2 separate regions of the Homo sapiens genome follow, and region 2 is linked to region 1. The links are contacts of gene promoters, found by promoter capture Hi-C in human tissues and cell types (Jung and others, 2019). All regions are on one chromosome and are shown on one strand. The core of a region is centred on a gene start or on the middle of the fragment in contact, and the rest is flanking DNA. Distances in the headings are between cores, read along the strand shown. Region 1 holds the start of KLHDC2 (kelch domain containing 2). Region 2 overlaps L2HGDH (L-2-hydroxyglutarate dehydrogenase).

What was found. The method cuts DNA at HindIII sites, captures the fragments that hold promoters and counts their contacts. A contact is called where the count stands out against the background at its distance.
Region 2: a fragment that was not itself captured here is called in contact with the fragment with the promoter of KLHDC2 in region 1 in 2 of the 25 tissues and cell types used here (dorsolateral prefrontal cortex and hippocampus).

Annotation. Positions count from the first base shown.
Region 1 is chr14:49,765,574-49,772,324 of GRCh38, forward strand. KLHDC2 (kelch domain containing 2) reads left to right here and starts at 2,580. Exons shown (of 13, transcript NM_014315.3): 1 at 2,580-3,048; 2 at 6,021-6,100. The coding sequence starts at 2,896. RefSeq lists silencers at 1,980-2,039, 2,380-2,459, 2,630-2,809. The HindIII fragment of the contact is 15,286 bases long and covers 1-5,715 here.
Region 2 is chr14:50,301,710-50,308,452 of GRCh38, forward strand. L2HGDH (L-2-hydroxyglutarate dehydrogenase) reads right to left here. Exons shown (of 10, transcript NM_024884.3): 2 at 1,193-1,308; 3 at 308-459. Among named protein-coding and RNA genes, the nearest start is that of MIR4504, 5.1 kb to the left of the region's middle. The HindIII fragment of the contact is 4,534 bases long and covers 2,932-6,743 here.

The DNA of each region.
Region 1 (6,751 bases), core at 1,330-3,829:
TTTATTTTTATTTTTGAGACAGAGTCTTGCTTTCTCACCCAGGCTGGAGTGCAGTGGCATGATCTCGGCTCACTGCATCTTCCACCTCCCAGATTCAAGCAATTCTTCTGCTTCCACCTCCCAAGTAGCTGGAATTACAGGCGCCCACCACCATGCCTGGCTAATTTTTCTATTTTTTTAGTAGAGACGGGGTTTCACCATGTCGATCAGGCTGGTCTCGAACTCCTGACCTCAAGTGATCCGCCCACCTCAGCCTCCCAAAATACTGGGATTATAGGCATGAGACACTGCGCCAGGCCGACTTAAGTGAAGAAAATCTGGCCTCACACAGATACATAGTTAGAAAAGAGAGTTCCTTAAGGAGCCCCTGAAAAGGTCTCCAGGTACCCACGGGGCTTGGAACTATACTTTGATACACTGAGAAACTCTGCTTATAGTACAACTAATTAATGTGTTTCAGAGACTCTTTTTGTTGTTACTGCTCTAAGTAGGATAAAAGTATGGTTTGAAACATAAATAAGTAAATCAAAGTGGATATTATAGTATTTTATTAAATGGCATATATATACGAAATATAGGCTGGGTGGGTGCGGTGCCTCACGCCTGTGATCCCAGCACTTTGAGAGGCCGAGGCGGGTGGATCACCTGAGGTCAGGAGTTCGAGACCAGCCTGGCCAACATGGTGAAATCCCATCTCTACTAAAAAATACAAAAATCAGCCGGGCGTGGTGGCAGGTGCCTTAGTCCCAGCTACTTGGGAGGCAGAGGCAGGAGAATCGTTTGGACTCGGGAGGCGGAGGTTGCAGTGAGCCGAGATCGAGCCAGTGCACTCAAGCCTGGGGGACAAGAGCGAGACTTCTCTCGAACAAACAAAAAACAAAAACGATGATAGAAGGGTAATGTAGCTGGAAGGAGGACACAGCCAGGAATTGAAGCTGGAAAGGCAAGCTGGGTCTGGACCATGCTGGGTCTTCTTGCACAGCACTGTGATATGAATTTTTTTTTTTTTTTTTTTTTTTTTTTGAGACGGAGTTTCGTTCTTGTTGCCCAGGCTGGAGTGCAATGGTGCCCTTTTGGCTCACTGTAACCTCCGCCTCCCGGCTTCAAGAGTTTCTCCTGCCTGAGCCTCCCAAGTAGCTGGGATTACAGGCGCCGGCCACCAAGCCTGTGTAATTTTTTTGTATTTTCAGTAGAGACAGAGTTTCGCCATTTTGGCCAGGCTGGTCTCGAACTCCTGGCCTCAGGTGATCCGCCTGCCTCGGCCTTCCAAAGTGTTGGGATTACAGGCGTGAGCCACCGCGCCCAGCCGAGATATTAATTTTGGATTCTACTAAGGACGACGGGAGCCAGCTCAAGGTTTTTAAGTGACTCGATCAGATTCACGAGGTTGGTTCACAAGGAACTTCGATAACCCCAAAGTCTAGTGAGCATAATTCGACTGGGAGAAGACACTGCTGCAAGGAATTCTGTGAACCAGACAGATTTGAGGGCACCAACCAGGGTGGATGGCAGATAAGGTCTTAACAGCCTCAAGGTGATTTGCTTCCTTGTTGAAGGCTTTAATTAATCCTCTTAAGTAACTTTCAAGTTCTTGAGTTCAAGTAAACACACTGGCACACTAGGGGAGGAGTGGCAGGCTATAAGCATTTTAATAATTAAAAAAAAAAAGCCTTTTATTGTTCAAAGTGTTCCTTTTCTATGGAGTGCTCCCAACCAGAAGATGAGGGAAATGGAGATAATGAAGCACGTCCCTCCTACCAAACACGATAAATTCTACAGGCACTGTAAGATCAAGAATTTAAGATTATTTTTGTCCCACCCTATTTTACAGGTGAGGTATCAAGCACAGTAACTCGTAATTTTCTTTTGGCCCAATTGAAAGGTATCATATAAGAGAAAGCTGTGTGTGCGTGAAAAGGATCCGCCTTTCTTTCTGAAGAAAAGGGTGGTTACGGCTTCGGAAACGCTTTTCAAGCCAACTCTGCAGCCCGGCTGGCGGCGGCAGCGGCGGCGGCGGCAACGTCAGATTCCCGCAGAGGCGGCGCCCGGCAGGGGCGGCAGGAGCTCAGGAGAGGCCCCCGGGGATCGGGCTGGGCCCCACGTGAGAGCTAAGCGACTGCCCTCGCGCCCGCAGAACAGCAGGGCCTGCATCGACTCTAAGGCGAGACCAGAAACTTGCTAGTGGAGCAATTCTGGTGCCCCTGCCCGGGCTGTGAACCCTCTGAGATCATCCCTCAATCAAACGAATAGAAATCCTCGGGAAGAAAAAAAAAATTGCGGCAATCCGGCTAAAATTCAGCAGCTTTCAGGGACCGATTCAGGACATTATCCCTGTGGTTCCCTCAGTGAAAGGAGACTCGAAGCGCGACTAGAAGTCGCCGGGCCCCATAGATCTGCGGTGCCCAGGCCGTAGGCGGAGGCGCGGGCAGAGGCGGCGGCGGCGGCGGCGGCGGCTGGAGGACCCGGCGCTGGGGGCGCTGAGCGGCAGCCTCGCTTCCGGAGCTCGGCGGGCGGCGTCAGCGGAACGGGCGGCTTCCGGCCGCGGCGTAAACAAGGCCGTGGACTGCAGGAGGCGGGGCAGACGGGCTGCAATAGGGAGCCGGCCCGACGCGGACCGCTTCCCTGCAGTGCCCCGAGTCCCGGGCCCGCGCCGCCGCCGCCCGGCTCCGCTCGCGGCCCCTCTGTCTGCAGGCGTGCCCCGGCGGCGGCGGAGAGCCGTCCTCGGCCGAGGAGGCTGGGAAACGCGAGCGCAGGCGGCAGAGAGGCCTCAACGCCGTCCCTTTCGCCACCGCCTTTTCCTTGCCTCGCGCCGCTGTGCATTTCTCTCCTTTTCCTTTGTTTTTTTGGCCCCTCGCGGGTGTGGGCATTGTTGGTTAGCAAAAGTGCAGCCTCAAGATGGCTGATGGCAACGAGGATCTGCGGGCTGACGACTTGCCTGGGCCAGCCTTCGAGAGCTATGAGTCCATGGAGCTTGCCTGCCCCGCTGAGCGCAGCGGCCACGTAGCCGTCAGCGACGGGCGCCACATGTTCGTCTGGGGCGGCTACAAGGTCAGTGAGTGGCCGGGCCGCGACGGACGTCGCTCGGCTGTGACTCGGGTCTGCGTTCGCGGCCAGGCGGGGAGGCCAGAGCGGGCCGCCGAGGGCGCTCCCCGCCTGCGTCGCGCGCCCCACCTCAGACTCTGCCCGTTGGTTGTTTTTTTTTTGCGCGCGGGAATCTTCCTTCTCTCGAGTACCCCAACCCGTCTCGAACCTCCAGGGCTGCTGTCATGTCACCCTGGTGCTCACAAAGCCAACTCACTCCCACCCCCGTTGTTGCCATTGGAGCGTTATTCCGGGGAAGGCCCTGTTAATGTTGCTTGGGCGGTGCATTCGGAAGGGTTGGGGTGTGAAAGGTGACGGTGTGTGATATCACTCAGACGCGTTATGAGGACGGCCTACGAGGACTTCACCCTCTGGAGCTGGGAACCGCTGCCCACTTACAGGGAGGCCGAGGTGTAGGAAAACTGGAATTCCAAAAGGTTACAGGAACCACCTTATTCAGCCTTCCCGCCTGTGCAAATGGCCATCAGGACTGTTTTCCTTCTGGCTTCAGCTGGGTTGAAGTTTTTCAGCAGACACCCCTATTAAGATAATGGAAAAGCTCCACCAGTAACCAAAAAATCCCCAGCATCAAATGAACTACAGAGTGCAGCTCTTTGACTCTCCGATCCCCTGGTTATAAACAACGTGATTAGTTAGCAGTTTAAAGCCAGTTGCCATTCTTTACCCTGCTAACCTCGGAAATCTAGAATTTTATTTGCTAGGATGGCTCTGAGCCAGTCCTACCACAAAATTCCTCTTTGGTCTTGAAAATGTTCTCCGCCCTCCCCACGCCCGTGCCTTGGATGACTTGCTTTGTGATTGTTTTTAGCTTATGGTACAGCTGACTTGATCATAGTTGACCATTTTTGAGATAGCTTTCAAAGATGGCTGTCCTGATACTTTATTTTGGTTTAACTGCAAAAGTAATTTTTTGCCAATCCTAATGAATCTGCAGTGTTTTCCCCAGTTTCCAATGAATGTGGTTAGAAAATAGAAAGGGGGCCGGGCGCGGTGGCTCACGCCTGTAATCCTAGCACTTTGGGAGGCCAAGGTAGGTGGATCAGCTGAAGTCAGGAGCTCGAGACCAGCCTGGCCAACATAGTGAAACTCCGTCTCTACTAAAAATACAAAAAAAAAAATTAGCCTGGCGTGGTGACGGGCGCCCTAATCCCGTCTACTTGAGAGGCTAAGGCAGGAGAATCACTTGAACCAGGGAGGCGGAGTTTGCAGTGAGCTGAGACGGCGCCATTGCACTCCAGCCTGGGCAACAAGAAGGAAACTGTCTCAAAAATACTTTAGAAAGGGGTAGAGAATTGCAAGAAGGGGGGCGGGGGGGCAAGCATGTAGTCACCCTTATAAAAATGTAAATTAATTCCCCTGGAGAAACCTGTCAATGACACTTCTAAGCTACCTAATTCATAATTGTATTTTTAAAATGACAGCATGAGAGAATAAGACTTTGGGAGTGGGGCAGGGGAGGATTCTTAGTGTGGAATATTTCTTGTGGATTTAAAAGGGCCTGGATGATTGGGGCCGATTCAGGGAGGAGCAGCACAATCACTGAATTGGATGGTTCTGAAACAGACTGCCCTCCCCATTTATGGCTGGTGGCTGGAACCCTGAGGGTAGGCACAGAAGTCCTTGGAGATTGTTTCAAAGGCAATAAACCTTGGCTTCCTACATAGTAGGCAGTTTTCCTCCCCAGGACAGGCTGGTCCCCTGTGGGTCAGCCCGCTTCCAGCCTTTCCCTTCATCACTGGTGGGGTGGAAAAAGAAGTTGTTTTACGTGGTCAACTGTTCTGTTTCTGTATGTTTAATATTCAAGCTTGCTGGACTTTGACACCCATTTTTGGCTAACCGCAGTCGTTTACTGTGTCAACATTGTTCAGAAAGTGGCTAGGGAGGGTCAAAGGCTGGGAATGTCAGGCAGTTGTTAAAGTTCAGGGAAAGGATAGAATCCTGGCTCCATCATTACTTCATAAATAACCTTGGGCAAATTACTTAAACTCTAAACTTGTTTTCTCATAACATCAGCTACTTTTTAGGGTTGTTGTGAGGATTAAATAAAGCAATCCATGGATAGCTTTCAGCTGTGGCATATGGTAGGCTCAGTCTGTGTTAGGAATTAATACCTGAAGGGAAATGGAGCAGAACAAAGAACTTAAAATTCTGCATAAGGATTTAATATTTTGCATATTTGCAGTTCTGCCCTCTCTATTGCTGCTTAGAGAATGGATAGGTGAAAGGAAGGCATGGCTAGAAAACCACGCATCGTGTTAGCGTGGATCAGGCACTTTCAGTAACAGCCTGCTGACCATGGCACAGGCAGTCTCCTGAAGTCATGCAGCTGAAATTTGGTGCATGGTTCTGTTCAGGATAAAGCTGCCTTAGAGAGTTCCCAGAGATCTCTTGGCTGGGCACAATGGCTCACAGCCTGTAATCCCAGCACTTTGGGAGGCTGAGGTGGGTGGATTGCTTGAGGTTGGGAGTTTGAGACCAGCCTGGCCAACATGGTGAAACCCTGTCTCTACTAAAAATACAAAAATTAGCCAGGCGTGATGGCGAGTGCGTGCAGTCCCAGCTACTTAGGAGGCTGAGGCAGGAGAATCACTTGAACCCAGGAGGTGGACATTGCAGTGAGCCAGCCAAGATTGCGCCACTGCACTCCATCCTGAGCAATAGAGACTTGGACTAAAAAAAAAAAAGTTCCCAGAGATCTCTTCTTGTCCTATTGCAACTGCTGTATCAAAATTCTGAATTAAGAGCTATCTATGTTGAGCTTTACCTTGAGTGTGTGGCATGGGTGGGGGAGGATTGTGCACTGTAATACCTATTTTTCATACTAATTATGAAATTAGTATCTCAAGATCGATTTAAAAAATACAGTAGTGCCTCTTTAAAATACCAGTTTTTATATTTACAATTTTTTTTATTCTTAGAGTAATCAAGTCAGAGGATTATATGACTTTTATCTGCCTAGAGAAGAACTATGGATCTACAACATGGAGACTGGAAGATGGTAAATGTGGATATTATAAGGGGGACTAAAAAATTCAGATAAGGGCTGGGCACGGTGGCTGGCTCATGCCTATAATCCCAGCACTTTGGGAGGCCAACGCGGGCGGATCTCTCGAGGTCAAGAGTTCAACACCAGGCTGGGGTGAAACCCCATCTCTATTAAAAATACAAAAATTAGCCAGGCATGGTGGCGTGCTAATTCCAGCTACTTGGGAGTCCGAGGTGGGAGAATCGCTTGAATCTGGGAGGCGGAGGTTGCAGTGAGCTGAGATCGAGCCACTGCACTCCAGTCTGGGTGACAGAGCAAAACTGTCTCCAAAAACAAACAAATCAGATATGGCTGCAAAGAAAAAAATGTAAAACACTTTCTAAGCTACTTATATATTCTAAAAACACTGTTCTGCTACTTTAGCTTAGCTGCTAAGCTTAATTTAGCACCTGTTCTGTAGTTACTAGATACTTTTATGAACTTAGAATAAATTTCTATCTCAAGTATCATAGTAATATTTAAAATAGATGTAGAGGCTTCAGATCCAGAATGGAAAAATAAGTGTTCCATTTTTTTCAAGATGTTAAGTCTTCTGTTATATGATCTCTTGAATAAGGAAAGGAATTTATAAATGGTTAAATTGTTAGATTTTAGATTGTATAG
Region 2 (6,743 bases), core at 3,949-6,448, 540 kb after region 1:
TTTTGGGGTGATGAAAAAGCCTGAAATTAGATAGTGGTGATGATTGCTCAGCTCTATAAATATACTAAAAATTGATCTGTGCACTTTAAAAGGGCGAATTGTATGGTGCATAAATTATATGTCAATAAAACTTTTATTTAGAAAATTACATAACGTCACACCATCTTTTTTTAGTTATTCCCTAAGATTAGATTTGAAAAATTACATAGATACAAAGAAAAAAATACATTTTTAAAAAATGTAATATTAAACATCACTAAGCAAATGCTAGTTGGAAATTAGTCAAGGCTCTAATAAAATGCCATACCTTGCCACACTGCTTGTAGGAAATTCCCTTTTGCTGACAGTACTCATAGAGGAGGGCTGCACCTTGTACACATAATTTGGCTTTCAGAGACTCAGGTTTATAATAAATTCCACTATGTATGACACCACTGTTATGTCCAGTCTGGTGAACAGCTACAGAACAAGAGAAACAGGGTAAGAGTAAGTACATGATTCATACAAAACATAAGAGGTAAGAGAACAAACTTATAGTTGAAGCTATTAGAGACCACATCATGTAAAATTCTGCCTGAATTTGTTCAGATCACTGGTAACTTCTTCTAACATCCCTGGTATCCATGTCACATCCCTCCAGCCCATCTCTGATTTCAACTACAACTTTGGTGCACAAACTCACCTCTCATTACCAGCAAACCACTTCAGGGGCCCCCTAGGGCTCTTTGCACTCTGCCTTGGGGCCTCTGGTAACTTTTTTAGAGAAGGGCACGGGGTGCTCAACATCACTAGCGGCAATCCTCAACCAATAGAGAGAAGAGCCGATGGATAAAGTGAGCACAATCCTGGGAAATACTACATTGCTCCTCAGAGGCTCCGGTGGAATCAAGCTCACAGCCACAATCTTGATGTGTTCTCATGTCTTTTCCTCCTTCCCTGTCTTACTTTCCTCACCCCCTCACTCCTGTTTCCTGAGATAACCTCTCAAATAAATAACCTATAGACACGTCCTCCTTGTCCCACACTCGGCTTTAACCTCTCAAATAACCTATAGCCATGTCCTTGTCCCACACTCTGCTTTTAGAACACAAACTAAGAAACTAACACTGACATTCAGCATGAAAGATTCACAACAGACAAAATGAGCAGATGCCCAAGTAAGCCCAAAGAACAACATTGATTATATACATACCTAAATCTTTCTCCTTTTCCAGAACACCAATAGAAAGTGATGGATGTCGCAGGATGAGTGCTCTGGCAGAGGCAAGCCCCACAATTCCGCCACCAACGATGACTATATCAAATGAGCTTCAAAAGAAAGTCATCTTTAAAGTAATTCATATTTACAGTAGACCTCGCCAAACTTCACATGCATAATTTTCATCAATGGACAATTAAACCATTAATTTGTAATCATGAAAACGTATTCGGCGGCCGGTCGCAGTGGCTCACACCTGTAATCCCAGCACTTTGAGTGGCCGAGGGGGGCGGATCACGAGGTCAAGAGATCGAGACCATCCTGGCCAACATGGTGAAACCCCGTCTCTACTAAAAATACAAAAATTAGCTGGGCGTGGTGGCGCGTGCCTGTAGTCCCAGCTATTTGGGAGGCTGAGGCAGAAGAATCACTTGAACCTGGGAAGCAGAGGTTGCAGTGAGTGGAGATCACGCCACTGCACTCCAGCCTGGTGACAGAGCAAGGCGACAGAGCAATGTATTGGGCCCTGTGCTGTTTGGTTTCACATGTATTAAAAAAAAAAAACCCTTAAAAGTTATACTAATCAAGCCTGGGTGTGATGGCTCATGCCTGTAATCCCAGCACTTTGGGAGGCCAAGGTGGGTGGATCACTTGAGGTTAGGAGTTCAAGACCAGCCCGGCCAACATGGTAAAACCCCATCTTTACTAAAAATACAAAAATTAGCTGGGTGTGGTGGCAGGCACCTGTAATCCCAACTACTCGGGAGGCTAAGGCTGGAGAATCGCTTGAACCTGGGAGGCGGAGGTTGCAATGAGCCGAGGTCATGCCACTGCACTCCAGTCCAGCCTGGGAGACAGCGCCAGACCCTGTCTCAAAAAAAAAAAAAAAAAGTTAGACGCATTAAAAAAAAAAAAAAAAAACCTCAAAAGTTATACGCATCACTGGTCAGTAGTATAATCAACTACAGCTTACTGGCAGGCAGGATAGCTGGTTGCCCAATCTGCTCTTTATCTCCATAGCACGGCAGCCAGGCTGGTTACATAAGTGACTGCAGTCATGCGTTGCTTAACCATAGGGTTAGGTTCTAAGAAATGCATTGGTAGGCGATTTCCTTGTGCAAACAGCATAGAATGTACTTACACAAACCTAGATGATATAGCTTACTGTACACCTAGGCTATATGGGATAGCTTATTGCTCCTAGGCTACAAGCCTGTACAGCAGGTTACTATATTGAATACTGCAGGCAACTGTAACACAATGGTAAGTATCTGTGCATCTAAAAATGTGTACATATAAAAAAGGTACAGAAAAAATATGGTATTATAATCTTTGGTATCACCACTGTACATGCAGTCTGTGGTTGACCAAAATGTTGTTATGCGGTGCATGACTATACTTTGTGTTAAGCATAGTCATGATTCTACTACCCAGCCTTTCAAAATTCCAATGTAGTACTCTTGACAATGTGTTAACACATTAAAGCTTTAACACTTTAGTGTGCAAGAATTTTTACAAGTTTTTCTTTGAGAAGTAAACAACTCCGAGAAAATAAACCTTGGGGCAATAATTGGTCCAGAAATGGGCTTAGGAACCACAATCTTTGCCATGGCAAATCCTGATTATACAACCATTTACAAAATTAGGGCCGGGCGTGGTGGCTCACGCCTGTAATCCCAGAACTTTGGGAGGCCAAGGCGGGCAGATCACGAGGCCAGGAGGTTGAGACCATCCTGACTAACACGGTGAAACCCCATCTCTACTAAAAATACAAAAAATTAGCCAGGCGTGGTGGCGGGCACCTGTAGTCCCAGCTACTCGGGAGGCTGAGGCAGGAGAATGGCGTGAACCCAGGAGGCGGAGCTTGCAGTGAGCCAAGATTGCACCACTGCACTCCAGCCTGGGCGACAGAGCGAGACTCTGTCTCAAAAAAAAAATTTAGAACAACCATGTATAATTTATATAAATCTGCAATTCGAAGCTTAAAAGATTACCTTTAACACTGACCTGATAGCCAACAAATATGGATCTTATAGGAACTGTAGACAGAGGGAAATTTCAGAGATTAGGCCCTTTCTTCGAAAAGTGATCTAAGTTTCAATTTCAAAATCCTTAGCAAAGCACATCAATTTGATTAGAATTGCTACCACATCTTTGGCTGTATCTGGAACCAGAAACAGATCCTAGACAACTAGGAACTAACACGTAAGCTTGATAAATCAAATCCTGCATCTTAAATTAACTTGGGGGTCATAAGTGGATAAAGTTCCCTCTGTCAGAGCATAAGCCTTATACTTGAACAGGGAGAACCTCCAGGTGATGCTCAGCAGGTGGTTCTCCTGCAGCAGCTTTAGATTGGATAAAATGGTTGTCAAGGATGGTGAATGATGCCCACTTTTAAAAAGAGAGGGCATAAAAAGAGCAGCACAAGTAAAATGGGATTCTGGGTCCACTACATTAATACTAGTTATTGGCAAATGCCTACAGTGGTCAACTAAAAAATTACTAATGTGATCAGAATGTATTTGGAAGTCCAAGCCTTTAAGCAGGTTTTAAAAAAACATAAGTTCAGTGGATAAAAGGTAAAGCATTCACATTCCACTAGGTACTTACACTGATTTACAGATTGACCCTTTACACAACTTTCACAATAAACAGATGTTTTATGGATTCTAAAATAGCCTGGCTTTTAAGAATTCCAGAATAACTATTGTTAAGATAGGCTTTTTATTTTTCAAAACCTCTATAATCTTCCACTAAGGTAGGTGTTCAAAACACTTACAAATACTTAAGATATTTGTATGTGTATTACTTAATCATATTTTATATACAGTCATCCCTCAATATCCACAGGGGATTGGTTTCAGGACTCCCATGGATACCGAAATCCACGTATGTTCAAGTCTTGTATACGAAATGGCACAGTATTTGCATATAATCTACACACATCCTCCAATATACCTTAAGTCATCTCTGGATCACTTATACTACATAGTACCATGTAAATGCTATGTGAATAGTTGTTATACTGTATTTTAAATTGTGTTATTTTTTACTGTTTTTTCCAAATATTTTGATCCATAGTTGGTTGAATCTGCAGATGCAGAACCCACAAAAACGAGGACTGACTGTTTTGACTGACTTTTTTTTTTTTTTTTCGGTGAGATGGAGTCTGGCTCTGTCGCCAGGCTGGAGTGCAGTGGCATAATCTCGGCTCACTGCAACCTCCAGCTCCCGGATTCAAGCGATTCTTCCACCTCAGCCTCCCAAGTAGCTGGGACTACAGGTGCGCGCCACCATGCCCAGCTAATTTTTGTATTTTTAGTAGAGACGGGGTTTCACCATGTTGGCCAGGATGGTCTCAATCTCTTGACCTCGTGATCCGCCCACCTCAGCCTCCCAAAGTGCTGGGATTACAGGTGTGAACCACCGTGCCCAGCTGTATTTTTTTAATTTATCAAGTTGATATCTATATCAATTACATGGCAGTGTGTGTATAAGAGAGATATCTTTCATACTGTTTTTCTTTCTTACTTTCAAGTTCAACTATGATGCTATGTTTTGCCTTCAAGGCTCATTTTCTGTAAAAGGTAGCATAACCTTGGCCCTTACAGGGGTGGTCTTGACTTCCATAATAATGCTTCTCATCCTTGCTGCCTTTTGTTTTTTTTGGGGGGTTTTTTTGTTTTGGGGTTTTTTTTTTTTTTTTAGATGGAGACTAGTGATTAAATGTTGATGTTCTAAAAGCTGACTCTGGCTGCTGCGTGTTGGTGGATAGCGGGAGTAGAGTCGGATACCAGTTAACAGTGATTGTGATTTGTTGTGGGGCATGTAGACAGTTCTTTTGGGAAGCTTTTCTTAAGGAAAGAAAAGCAGGGCTGGTGAAAGTTTTGTTTATACTGAAAATTTTTTTTTAAAAAATTTTGGAGTCAGGGTCTCACTCTATTGCCTAGGTTGGAGTGTAGCAGCATGATCTCGGCTCACTGCAGCTTCCCACTCCCAGGTTCAAGTGATTCTCCTGCCTCAGCCTCCCTAGTAGCTGATATTATAGGCGAACACTGCCATGCTGGGCTAGTTTTTGTATTTTTACTAGAGACGAGGTTTCACCACGTTGGTCAGGCTGGTCTCAAACTCCTGACCTCAGGTGATCCACCCGCCTCGGCCTCCCAAAATGCTGGGAATACAGGCGTGAGCCACTGCGCCTGGCCCCTTGCTGCCTTTTGATAATTATAACACAAAAGCTTTTGGGGAGGTAGACCTTCCACTTAGAATTATTACCTTGGTACAGATTCCCAGCCAAGATATTGTCTTTGCAGATTATACTACAACTATCAATAAACCCTTCTTATTTTCAAACATAAAACTATCATACTGAATATGCTTTTTCCAACTACATGTGCCACCCTTCACTCCCTCTTCTCAAATCTGAAGAATCACTGTTTTATCCAGTGACACAAAATCATTGAAATATGTTTCACAAACAAAAGCACAAATCTCCAAGCATCCACTATGGAGACAGGTGAACAGAACAATAGTCATAGATGAATGCTGGAGGACAGTTGCAGGCCAAGCTAACCACGGAGGCTGAAAGAGACATCTTTCTCTACAACTCACTTAATCTCAAGTTAACACCAATGAATGGTTTAACAGATAATTTTCTTAAGCTTTTTATGGAAAAGTTCATACCTACACAAAGTTAGACAAAATAGTTCAATGAAGCCCCACATATACATCACCCAGCTTCACTAATTATCAACTCACAGCAAATCTTGCTTCTTCTATACTCTATTTCATCCCCTCCTGTATTATATTATTTTGATGCAAATCTTAAACACCACATTATTTCATCTGTAAATATTTCAATGTTATTTCTAAAAGGCATCTCTAAAAACACACACTACCATTATAGTTAAAAAAACTAACACAAAATTTTTTACATCACCTAATATTCACTTTAAAACTTTTAGGAAAAAATAGGACAAAATCTTGGGACTTAGAGTTGACATCAAAAACATGATCCATAAAAGAAAAAAAACTGATAAAATGGACTTCATCAAAACATAAAACTTTTGCTCTGCAAAAAGACTCTGTTAAGAGGATAAAAAAACTAAGAAATTGGAAAAAAATACTAGTAACTGCATATCTCCCAAAGGACTCATACATAAAAGAACTCTCAAAACAAGCCATTTAGAACGTAGGCAGGCCGGGTGCGATGGCTCACGCCTTTAATCCCAGCACTTTGGGAGGCCAAGGCGGGCGGATCACCTGACGTCAGGAGTTTGAGACCAGCCATGCCAACATGGAGAAACCCCATCTCTACTAAAAAGACAAAATTGGCTGGGCATGGTGGCGCATGCCTGTAATCCCAGCTACTCGGGAGGCTGAGGCAGGAGAATTGCTTGAACCCAGGAGGCCTCTGCGGTGAGCCGAGACCGCGCCACTGCGCTCCAGCCTGGGCAACAAGGCGAAACTCCATCTCAGAAAAAAAAAAAAAAAAAAAGTGGGCAAAAGATATGAACAAATATTTCATCAAAGAGGACAGATA